3 separate regions of the Homo sapiens genome follow, and regions 1 and 3 are each linked to region 2. Evidence: promoter capture Hi-C in 16 types of primary human blood cells and fetal thymus (Javierre and others, 2016). All regions are on one chromosome and are shown on one strand. Each heading gives the region's core, a stretch centred on a gene start or on the middle of the fragment in contact. The rest is flanking DNA. Distances are from core to core; before and after follow the strand shown. Region 1 overlaps LOC124905046 (a long non-coding RNA gene). Region 2 holds the start of PRMT2 (protein arginine methyltransferase 2). Region 3 overlaps PCNT (pericentrin).

Region 1 (3,648 bases), core at 912-3,411, 180 kb before region 2:
TGACACTTGTGAGTAGGAAAAGACAAGCCTCGTATCTGGAATATGAGACTATTCTTGTGAAAAGTGAACCACCAGCCCTTCCAGGATGGGAGAGTTCCAATACAGTAAACTCTCCTTATAAAATGGGGACTATGTCTAAAGACCTCTGTAAACCTGGATGTTTGTGCTCCTTGATGAAGTGACCCACAATGGGAGTATAGCACTGGTCTCTTTTGCTGGCAGGTTAGATATTTAGGGGCAGCTAGATATTAACCAAAGCCGGGTAGATCTCTTTTGCTGGCAGGTTAGATATTCAGGGGCAGCTAGATATTAACCAAAGCTGGGTAGAGAGCATGGGTTGCTGTCAGGCCCATGAACAGCGTCCATCACCTTGGCTACCTTGTCCATGTGCCCATCATGCCAGTAGTACAGTAGCCAATAAAAGATGCTGTCCAATATCAACTGGCTGAGTCAACTGTCTACTTGGTTGTATAATGCTTCTTTCATGGATGCTCTCTGGTGGGCATTAACATTGTATACAAAGAACATTGTACTTCGTGCTATTCCAATTTATCTGACCACATAAATCTACCACACACCTCCTTATCTCCAACTTCCGATTGTTTTCCTTCCAGGCCCTTAACCAGTTACCCAGGCCCTCTAGCATTGCCCATGGCTCCATGTATATTCTCACCTTGGGCTACTTCTTCCACAAAAAAGTGGACGACCAGGAGCTCTGCCTGAAATTCTGCCTATTGAGAGGATATGCCCTTATCACCATTTTTCAAGGTCACCCCTGAGAAGGCTGTAATGTAGCTGCTATTTTCATTTTGAACTCATACTGAGCCAACCCATTTATACACCATGCTCACGATTTTTACTCCTGTCAACTGGCTATAAGGGCCCCCTCACACTGTCACAGGTGTGAAATGACATTGTGGCTGATCCAACAGTTCTGGAAGTCATGTGCATCTGTGCTCTGCAGCTCATTTGGTAACCTCTGTACATTCTCATGCTCAACCTTGAATATACTACTTCCATATTATGAGGGACCGTTGCTGGCCCCAACTGATGTTATGACTTTTGCTAGTTTAACATTAACAGGCAGTTCTGGTTGCATGGTCACCTGGTGGCTTACGGTCAGGCGTTCCATCTCTGTCAGAGACAAGTGGCATACCAGAAGACAGATCTACACCCGCCCGCCCCCCAAATGCATACAATTCTCTGCTCCAGGTGGCATGACAGAATCTCTACATTGCATCATTCTGCACCATTAATAACACCAAAAAAACACCTGTTGGACTATATGGCCCAGGCAATAGCATTACTTCATCACAACCCGGATCTACTGTACAGACGTTTCCAGTTCTGGGCTCTTTCCAAAATTGGAAATCTCCCAATTCCACTAGTCTCTGGACCAGAGCAATACTCCCAGGTGTGGGACATGCTGCCTCCAGAACCTGAGGCAAGAACTAGCTCGAGAACCAACAAGCGTCTTGCTTTCTTAACGGCAGGAGGTGCAAGCAGCAATAATTCATTCGCTTTTGGAAGGGATGCCCTAGAGCACCCCTGACCACTGGAGCCCTAAAAATGTTAGGATTGTAGCAGGCTCCTGGATTCCTGTAGGGTTTATATGCCACTCTCTGGAGCAGCTGTCTCCAGGATCTTCTGCACTTCTCATCTGGCTGATCAACATGTCACTGATGTAAAGGAACAATGTAATATTCTACAGGATGTCTAGGTGGTCCAGATCTCTTTGGATTACGACAGAGAGCAAGAGAAGTAACATAACCTTCCGGCAAAACTGCATTTTAATTCCATGCAAATGCAAAATGTTTTTGATCCCTGATAGGTACAGAAAAGAACAAATCCACCTAGTCAACAACTACCTACCATATCTGGCAGAGAGGCTATTACGGATACTTTTTTTTTTTTTTTTTGAGATAGAGTCTCACACTGTCACCTGGGCTGGAGTGCAATGGCATGATCTCGGCTCACTGCAACCTCCACCTCCCAGGTTCATGGGATTCTCCTGCCTCAGCCTCCCAAGTAGCTGGGATTACAGGTGCACACCACCACACCCAGCTAATTTTTTGTATTTTTAGTAGAGACAGGGTTTCACTATGTTGGCCAGACTGAACTCCTGACCTCGTGTTCCGCCCACCTTATCCTCCCAAAGTGCTGGGATTACAGGCGTGAGCCACTGTGCCCGGCCAGGGATACTTCTTAGATGAGTTTGCAGCAGTGTACCCAAAACAACTACTGGTTGACAGCAAATAGAGTAGGCTGCCATTCTCCAGGATCCTTGTGACTTCTGCAGGGGTCATGCTGGTAAATTAAAAATGTTGGTAACCACCACTTTACATCACTTGGATCCTTAGAAGTGGCACTTATCTCTGCCATTCCCGCTCTGGGATAATTGTTTTATAATCTTGGTAGGGGATGGGGCAGTTTCAGGTTTCTGTTTGGCTTTTTCCATTTTGTTATCTAACTCTATAGGTCAGGGACCTGGAATGAGCATTCACTGCCAAGTATGTCAATGCCAATTACTCACTCGAAGGCTAAGAAAATATCACTAGATCAGTCCACTAGGTCTACGGGTCCACTGTAAGCTGGACCTTTAGCAGAACTCCATCAATTACCTGGCCACCACATGCAGCCACTCTAACAGAAGGGGATGATATTCTAGGCATCTGGACATCAATTTAGACCCTGTGTCCACAAGTCTTCCAAATGTTTGGCTAATCACTTTTCTCCAGGATGTAGTTATCAAAAGAAATTGCTATCAGACCCTTTGGAAAAGTACCTGGGGATTCATTTCTGTTGTACTTGTACTGTTATAGGTCCTTCTTCCTGGTGTTTGGCCACCTCTCAAGTAATGTTTCCATTTCTGAAAACTGGCTCAGTTCCAGAAGCTGGGCATGGAATCCTGATTTTTTAAAACTGGGACAAGCATCTTTATTTATTTTTTTCAATTGAGACAGTCTTGCCACATTGCCCGGGCTGGAGTGCAGTGGTGCAACCACAGCTCACTGTAATCTTGAACTCCTGGGCTCAAGTGATCCTCCCACCTTAGCTTCCCCAAATGCTGAGATTACAGGCACAGGCCACCGTGCCTGGATGGATTTTTTTTTTTTTTTTTTTTTTTGCCAGCTGAGTAGTACCCTTCTTAGCTGCCCACCTGTTTTGCCTCCAGGGATGCCATGTTTATTGACCAGTTCTATAACCATACAAGTGAGGTCCCCTTGGCTGCCACTCAGACCCTGCTGGCTGCTATAATTGCAATCCTCTGACTTCTGCCAGCTAAGTGTTGCCTTTGGCTTCTTGGGTTTTTTTCTTTGGTCCCCACTATGTCCCAGAATGGCCTCTTTTGTCTTAGGATCCTATCATCCCCAGTGCTATCACCCAGCCAAGTTCTGGAACAGCCTTTCTATTGTCATTCTTGCCTACAGAGATGAGCCATCACTGAATATTTTAGTGACATCAGTGCCCCTTTCATCATCCTATGTCTAATGATCTTTATAAATGACGTGTTATTTACACCTTCATGTGGAATATGATCGTCTCAAATGTCTTCTAGATGCACGGAGTATATAAATTTCAACATGCCCACACCCCTGAACCTTTTACTCCCTTCCACCACTGTCTGCCATAGCAATTTTGCCATTT
Region 2 (3,909 bases), core at 1,085-3,584:
ATGGGAATCACTTGAACCTGGGAGGTGGAGGTTGCAGTGAGCTGAGATTGTGCCACTGCACCCCAGCCTGGAACACAGAGCCAGACTCTGTCTAAATAAATAAATAAATCTCATTATCATATTTCAGCTAGGACTAATTGCTGCTATTTCAGAAGTACCAAGTATCAAACCAGAAAGGGCTTAATTTAGGAACTAAACCCAGGCTGTGGTGGTGGAAAAAAAGAAGGCAGAACCCTTAGGTATGGAACTGCAGTGTGGGGTGACAGACATTACTCTTTTTGGTTGGTCTGGCTAGCAAAAATGTGGCCTTGTTATGTAAGAAAAGCCCTTTAAGTAGTCAAAATAAATTTTTTTTTTCTTTTTCCTTTTGCTAGCTGTTTTTCTCCCCCCACCACATCACCTTTTGTGTGTGTGTGTGTGGTGGGGAGGGGTTGAAACTTAGCCACTTCAGAGGCCTCACTTCTCATAATTTGGAACTTTCCTTTGGTTTCGATCAAGTCAGATAGAGTTCGTCAAACTCAATGCGAAAAAGACAAAAGAACAAAAAACAGAAACAACAACAAAAAAACCAGTTAAGCGAAACGAAGGATTGGGCAATTTATAAGGTTACTGAGCACACTAATGGTAAGGAGAAATTAAGACCAGCTGGTTGTTAATCTTAATAGCCAAGACAAACCCCAATTCAGTTACTTCCTAGGGATGGGTCTGAGGCTGAAGATTGCTCTCTACCACCCTAGAAGCAGAGGAAGAAAACCCCTCATCTTTCCTGTGGGAAGCGAGCTCAAACTCCATAAACGAGTTACCTGCCTTCCATTGTCATGGAAGCAGGAAAAAACTACTACTTCCTTATGTTGGAAGAGAGTAAAGCACACCCCGCCCCCCAACCCCCGCCCAACACACAAAAGGAGTTGTACAGCAAAATAAACTAGATCTTGACTAAATCTGGGTAGATCAGGGATTCTCTGGAGGGGGTGCTTCCAGGCCTCAGCAAATTGTCCTATTGGTTTGAGCCATAAAGATAGCTCAAGCTGGTACTAAGGACTGACAGATTTGTCAAAGGTCAGTGGCACCTCTACTCAGAATCCCTTTGTGGTTACCAAAATGTGAACCTTGAATATCTGAGTCAGATCTCAGTCAACTTAGGAAGTTTATTTTGCTGAATTTAAGGATGCACGCCCATGACACGGCCGTCGGAGGCCCTGATGACATGTGCCCAAGGTGGTCAGAGCACAGTTTGGTTTTATACGTTTTAGGGAGACATGAGACATCAATCAATATATGTAAGATGAACATTGGTTTGGTCCGGAAGGGCGGGACAACTCAAAGCAAAGGCAGGAGGGAGCTTCCAGGTCATAGGTAAATATGAGACAAATCATTGCATTCCCTTGAGTTTCTGGTTAGCCTCTCCAGAGGTGGCAATCAGATACGCATTTATCTCAGTGAGCTGAGAGATGACTTTGAACAGAATGGGAGGCAGGTTTGCCCTAAGCAGTTCCCAACTTGACTTTTCCTTTTAAGCTTAATGATTTTGCGGCCCCCAAATTTATTTTCCTTCCACATTTTTTTTTTTAAATCAGACTTAAGGTCTGCCTTGATGTTAATGCTGGAGGAGTGTAAAAAGGCATGTCCAACTCTTACTTCCCTTCGAGGCCAGAATAGTCTCTCAGGTTGAACTTCAGGGTCCCCTGGTAAAGGAGGGAGTCCAGTCAGACGGCTGCGGGGGAGGGGGGGCTTCGAATTTTATGTTTTACAGGCATTAGCGCCACCCATTTCTCCTTAACCCCAAACTTCCTCTCCCCACAACAGAAACGTCATCATTCTGCTTCCACTTATCCAGAAGAAAGGCAGAGGGCGCACACTGCGCAGCGCGGATGGGAAAGTTAACTGAATTATTTGCGGGAAGACAGAGGAGGTGGGGGGTCCCCCAAGCCCCAGCCATTTTGTGGCTCGTAGGGGTTGTCGCTTCCCAAGCCGTGAATGGCCCAAACCCGCCCCCCGCCCCAGGTCGGACTCCTGCCCCGCGCCCCTCTGGGTCGGACCCCAAGCCGAGCCCCCCAACCCCGCGGCTGGGCTGGGCGATTGGGGACGAGCTCCACACATGGAGAACCTGGCCTCGCCTCGCAAGACCGCGGGACGCGCAGATGTGAAGTGCGCCTGCGCGGGGCGCAGCCCCAGCTGCAGACGATCTGTGAGCGACGCGCCGGCGCAAGTCGAGGGCGGTGGCTTGGCTTCCCTGGAATGGGGGACGTCTTAGGACTGCGCCTGCGCGGGGCGCCGGGCCCTGGGCGGGGCCTTCCCGGCTGACGGCCTGCGTGCACTGCGCTTGCGCGGGTTGAGGGCGGTGGCTCAGGCTCCTGGAAAGGACCGTCCACCCCTCCGCGCTGGCGGTGTGGACGCGGAACTCAGCGGAGAAACGCGATTGAGGTAGGTGTCCTGATGGGCAGCTCAGATGGCTGGACTGCACGTAAGGAAGGACAGGCCAGGTGAGGCGTCCTCGCACTGCGTGTGCGTCGCTGGCGGACAGAGGCCTCCGCCCCCTTTTGGGACCTCCGAGCGCCTTCGCGATCTCAGCCACTTTCCCTGGCGTCCAAACGGGAGCTCGGTCCCCGTCACACCCTTCCCTGCGTGCCGCACCCCTTCCCGGCCACTCCCGCCGTCCAGCGCCTTCTACGGCCACGCCCACCCCACCACCATCTCTGTCACGCCCTTCGCGGCCACGCCCACCTGCCTGGCGGCCCCTGCCCCGAAGCTCGCGGCGCTGTCCCAGCCTGACCCTCTCGTGCCCCTGCGTCCACGCGTGGCCCTCTCGCTTCCTGCCCCCTTCTCACCCCCCTTCACTGGCCACCTGTTCCAACCCTCCATGATCCTGTTCCTCCCGAGGGCATCTTAGGAGGGCAGGGTCCTGCGCGCACTGCGGCCTCCACTCCGACCCCGTCCCAGTTTGGACCCAGGTCTTCCAATGAAAATATAATTATGCAAATCAGTAAGCATTTGTAACTACGAATATCACAAAAATAAGCTTCAAGTCTGGATTTAGAAGTGAAGCATGCATTTTAAACAAAGAATTGCTATGCAATTTTAAAAACACATTGATCCCAGAGCAGTGTGTGGATTACACTATCACTGGAAAAATACGAATTGAGAAGAAGGAAAAGACTGGAAGATGCAGACCTTGGTTCCTGTTAGTGGAAACACTGTAAGGTCCCAGGTAGGGACTTTTAATTGGAATTAAAGCTATCACACTTCTAAGAAATTAATGAATACTGATTTATTGCCTTAAGTCGACACCTGATCTAACAGAAACTAACAGGCTTCAGCAAATGAACAAGATTAACACCTTGCAGACTAGTGAAGAAAACACACTATTTGAAGTTTATGATTTTTAAATGCTTTTGTCTCTGTAAAGTATTGTAAATTTTCATTTCTACACTAATCTTCACACATACACATTTTACTTCTATTTGGTAGAGGACATCATGCACATTAGAAGTTAAGTGAACTCAATTATTAAGCAATGTAACAAGTACTTTGTGTCTCCTTCTCTTTTTAAAAGTAGAAATGGAAAAGAAAATGAAATAAATCAGCAGTTATGAGGCAGAGCCTAAGAGAACTATGGCAACATCAGGTGACTGTCCCAGAAGTGAATCGCAGGTAATTTCCGTTCCACTTCCTAAAAATCTGTGTTTAATGAATGTGAGCATTACAGAGAGCTAAGCGTCAGCTCACAGATGTGATGGAGCTTGGCTTGTGCCTTGGAAGGTGGCCACCGGCAGTAGAATGCTTAAATGTGAAGATTGTGAGGCAGAGGAAACGCAGTGCCTGTAAGGTGACATCCTGCATTGGGCACCATAACAATTCTAAGGAAATACTTAGCCCCAAAACATCAGCATCATTTAGGGTTCCATTTTT
Region 3 (3,544 bases), core at 329-2,828, 200 kb before region 2:
TTCTAGAAAGTATTGAAATCAGGAAGTGTGAGTTCTCCAACTTCGTTCTTCCTCTTCAAGATAGTTTCAGCTCTGTGGGGCTTCTTGCTATTCCACAGGAATTTGAGGATTGGTGTTTGTATTTCTGCAGAACCTGCCACTGGGATTTTCTTAGGGATGGCATTAAATGTGCTGATTGCTCTGGGTAGTATTGACATCTGGACAGTGTGAGGTCTTTTGATCCACGATTACAGAATGTGTCTCTTCATTTAATTAGGATTTTTTTGAGATAGGGTCTGGCTCTGTCACCCAGGCTGGAGTGCAGTGATGTGATCTCAGCTCACTGCAGTCGCCGCCTCCTGGGTTCAAGCAATTCTTCTGCCTCAGCCTCCCACGTAGCTGGGACTGCAGGCACATGCCACCACGCCTGGCTAATTTTTGGATTAGTAGAGACAGGGTTTTCCATGTTGGCCAGGCTGGTCTCAAACTTCTGACCTCAGGTGATCCGCCCGCCTGGGCCTCTCAGACTGCTGGGATTACAGGCGTCAGCCACCACACTCGGCTGTTTACTTAGGCCTTCTTTAGTTTCTTTCAGTAGTGTTTCATTGCTTTCAAAATATAAGTTTTATACTTTTGTTAAATTTATTTACTTATTTATTTTTTGAGATGGAGTCTCATTCCGTCACTCAGGCTGGAGTGCAGTGGCACGAACTCAACAATGTTGAATAGAAGGGATGAGAGCAGGCCGGGCACGGTGGCCGATGCCTGTAATCCCAGCACTTTGGGAGGCCAAGGCAGGCAGATCATTTGAGGTCAGGAGTTCAAGACCAGCCTGGCCAACAAGGCGAAAGCCCATTTCTACTAAAAATACAAAAAATTAGCCGGGCATGGTAGTGTGCACCTGTAATCCCAGCTATTCGGGAGGCTGGGGCAGGAGAATTGCTTGAACCCGCAAGGCGGAGGTTGCAGTGAGCCGGGATTGCACCGCTGCACTTCAGCCTGGGCAACAAGAGCGAGACTCCATCTCAAAAAAACAAAAACACTCTTTGGAATAGTCGTAGTTTTTTTTATCTCCAGAAGCCTTGGAGAGTAGGGAGGTGGTTTGGTGGTACAGACAGTGTGGCCAAGCATGGCAGGGGCGTCTACACAGGACCCCAGCTGAGGGTGAGACGTGGTGTGTGTGTTTGCCTTTCTCCTGGGCAAGAGCTCATCCTTTGATGGAATGCTCAAAGGAGTCTTTACTTTTTGAGAACTTCCTGAAACCACGCCTGAAGTTGCCAGCCAAAACCTTTAATTTTGATTGTTTCTTAAAAAAAATAGTAACATGAGTGCTTAGAAAATATTTTCTAAGTTGCTTGCTTCAGGATGCATCTTGACCTGTATTTTGAGTGAGGTGGCCCTTCCAGAGTGATTTATTTATTAATTTTTTTTTTGAGGTAGAGTCTCGCTCTGTCTTCCAAGCTGGAGTGCAATGGCACGATCTTGGCTCACTGCAACCTCCACCTCCCGGGTTCAAGTGATTCTCCTGCCTCAGCCTCCTGAGTAGCTGGGATTACAGGTGCATGTCACCACGCCCAGCCCAGCTAATTTTTGTATTTTTAGTAGAGACGGGGTTTTACCACATTGGTCAGGCTGGTCTTGAACTCCTGACCTTGTGATTGATCCGCCCACCTTGGCCTCCCAAAGTGCTGGATTACAGGCGTGAGCCACTGTGCCCGGCCTCCAGAGTGTTTTTTACTGAGGATAGTGAATTTGATCTGGATTATAGAACCCTTCTCTAGCTGTAGCCATGGAAGCCTCCCAAGATAGTGGCATGCTGGATACAATTCCATCTTTTCTAAATAATACAATCTCATTAGTTCCTCTGTATCTTACTTTCCTTACTAGAAAATAGAAAAGATACTCATTCCTGTTTAAGAGGCCCGAGCATTGAGTGAGGCGCTGTCAGGAGGGTAGAGTCTGAGCTGCACCCTGGTCACCGCAGTGGCAGGGGCGCTGGTGCCACACAGTGCAGGCTCAGCTGTGGGTCCTCTGGGCTGGGAAGGCCTCAGCTCAGTGCTGGGGTTCCCTCCCTGACACGGCAAGCCGCCTCTGTGTGTCTGCATCTTGGGCCTCTTCCCGCTGGATCTGTCTTTGTGTTGTCACAAGGAAGCCCCAGCGGCGCTGCTGGGAATCAGAGGCCCTTCAGAGGCTGCTTCGTCCTTCCTTGCCCCATCGTGCAGTAGACCTTCTGTCCCCTGCCTGGTGGGAGTCGGGCCCTGGGCAGGGGCTCAGGCGCTTGCTGACACGCTTCTCCCGGGCACCAGACATGGCCTGTGCCCCCGTCCTGCAGAAGGAAAGGCTGCTGCTCCTTGAGGTCTGGCTTAGGAGCTCAGGCCCACGTGGCCACCCAGGCTCAGCCCCAGGGCTGCACTCAGGCTCATACGTGTGTGCATGTTCACATGCACAAATGTGCCTGTCTGTGTCTATGTTGGTATGAGCGTCTGGGCGTGTGCGTGTACATATGTGGATGAGTGGGACCAGGGCACAGGGAAGCGTCATCCGGTCTGTTCTGTTTCAGCTTCTCAGGCTCCTCTCCTTTGGACCCCGCGTGCTTGCCCTGGGCCTGATGAAAGCCTGATAGTTTTAAAAACTACGATGGAAACGCTTTTACCACTGAATCATTCTGGGGTGTGTGATTCAGCTGCCTCCATGCTGGAGGGACACAGAGCAGCACAGCACGAGGGTGTGCAGTGTGTCAGCTGTGGGTCCCAGTACAGGACCACAGGGGCTGCCTGCCCGAGGGCCTGTTTCTGGTCTGTGAGGGGCCTCCCCTGTAACGCGGCTGTGTGTTTTGGGCTTTTGCTTGGCAGTTGTTGTTTTTTTTGTTTTGGTTTGGTTTTTTTTGGTAGATGGAGTCTCACTCTGTCGCCAGGCTGGAGTGCAGTGGCGCAATCTCAGCTCACTGTAACCTCTACCTTCTAGGTTCAAGTGATTCTCCTGCCTCAGCCTCCCGAGTAGCTGGGATTACAGGTGCGCACCACCACGCCCAGCTAATTTTTATATTTTTAGTAGAGACGGGGTTTCCTCATGTTGGCCAGACTGGTCTCGAACTCCTGACCTCAGGTGATCCGCTTGCTGCAGTCTCCCAAAGTGCTGGGATTACAGGCGTGAGCCACCACACCCTGCTGGCAGTTTTGTGTTTTGTTTTGTTTTGTTTTGTTTGAGATGGAGTCTCACTCTGTTGTCCAGGCTGAAGTGCAGTGGCGCAATCTCGGCTCACTGCAAGCTCTGCCTCCCGGGTTCACGCCATTCTCCTGCCTCATCCTCTCGAGTAGCTGGGACTACAGGCGCCCGCCACCACGCCCGGCTAATTTTTTGTATTTTTAGTAGAGGTGGGGTTTCACTGTGTTGGCCAGCATGGTCTCAATCTCCTGACCTCATGATCTGCCCGCCTCGGCCTCCCAAAGTGCTAGGATTACAGGCATGAACCACCGCGCCCGGCCGGCAGTTTTGTTTTTGGACACTGACGTGAACGTCTTCTCTGTCTTTTTTCTGTTAACAACAGCGAGAATTAGAACTGCAG

What was found. The method cuts DNA at HindIII sites, captures the fragments that hold promoters and counts their contacts. A CHiCAGO score of 5 or more calls a contact.
Region 1: a contact is called between a fragment that was not itself captured here and the fragment with the promoter of PRMT2 in region 2, in 10 of 17 cell types (naive CD4 T cells, total CD4 T cells, naive CD8 T cells and 7 more). The highest score is 13.7, in naive CD4 T cells.
Region 3: a fragment that was not itself captured here is called in contact with the fragment with the promoter of PRMT2 in region 2 in 2 of 17 cell types (naive CD8 T cells and total CD8 T cells); the score reaches 5.8 in naive CD8 T cells.

The regions. Positions count from the first base shown.
Region 1 is chr21:46,451,842-46,455,489 of GRCh38, forward strand. LOC124905046 (a long non-coding RNA gene) reads right to left here. Exons shown (of 2, transcript XR_007067915.1): 2 at 1-3,648. Among named protein-coding and RNA genes, the nearest start is that of DIP2A, 5.2 kb to the right of the region's middle. The HindIII fragment of the contact is 7,328 bases long and covers 1-3,648 here.
Region 2 is chr21:46,633,340-46,637,248 of GRCh38, forward strand. It overlaps PRMT2 (protein arginine methyltransferase 2), which reads left to right and starts at 2,335. Exons shown (of 12, transcript NM_206962.4): 1 at 2,335-2,424; 2 at 3,100-3,208; 3 at 3,557-3,651. The coding sequence starts at 3,613. RefSeq lists an enhancer at 1,433-2,103 and silencers at 1,874-2,093, 2,204-2,753. The HindIII fragment of the contact is 1,501 bases long and covers 1,517-3,017 here.
Region 3 is chr21:46,432,378-46,435,921 of GRCh38, forward strand. It overlaps PCNT (pericentrin), which reads left to right. Exons shown (of 47, transcript NM_006031.6): 39 at 3,527-3,544. Among named protein-coding and RNA genes, the nearest start is that of DIP2A, 25 kb to the right of the region's middle. The HindIII fragment of the contact is 8,168 bases long and covers 1-3,544 here.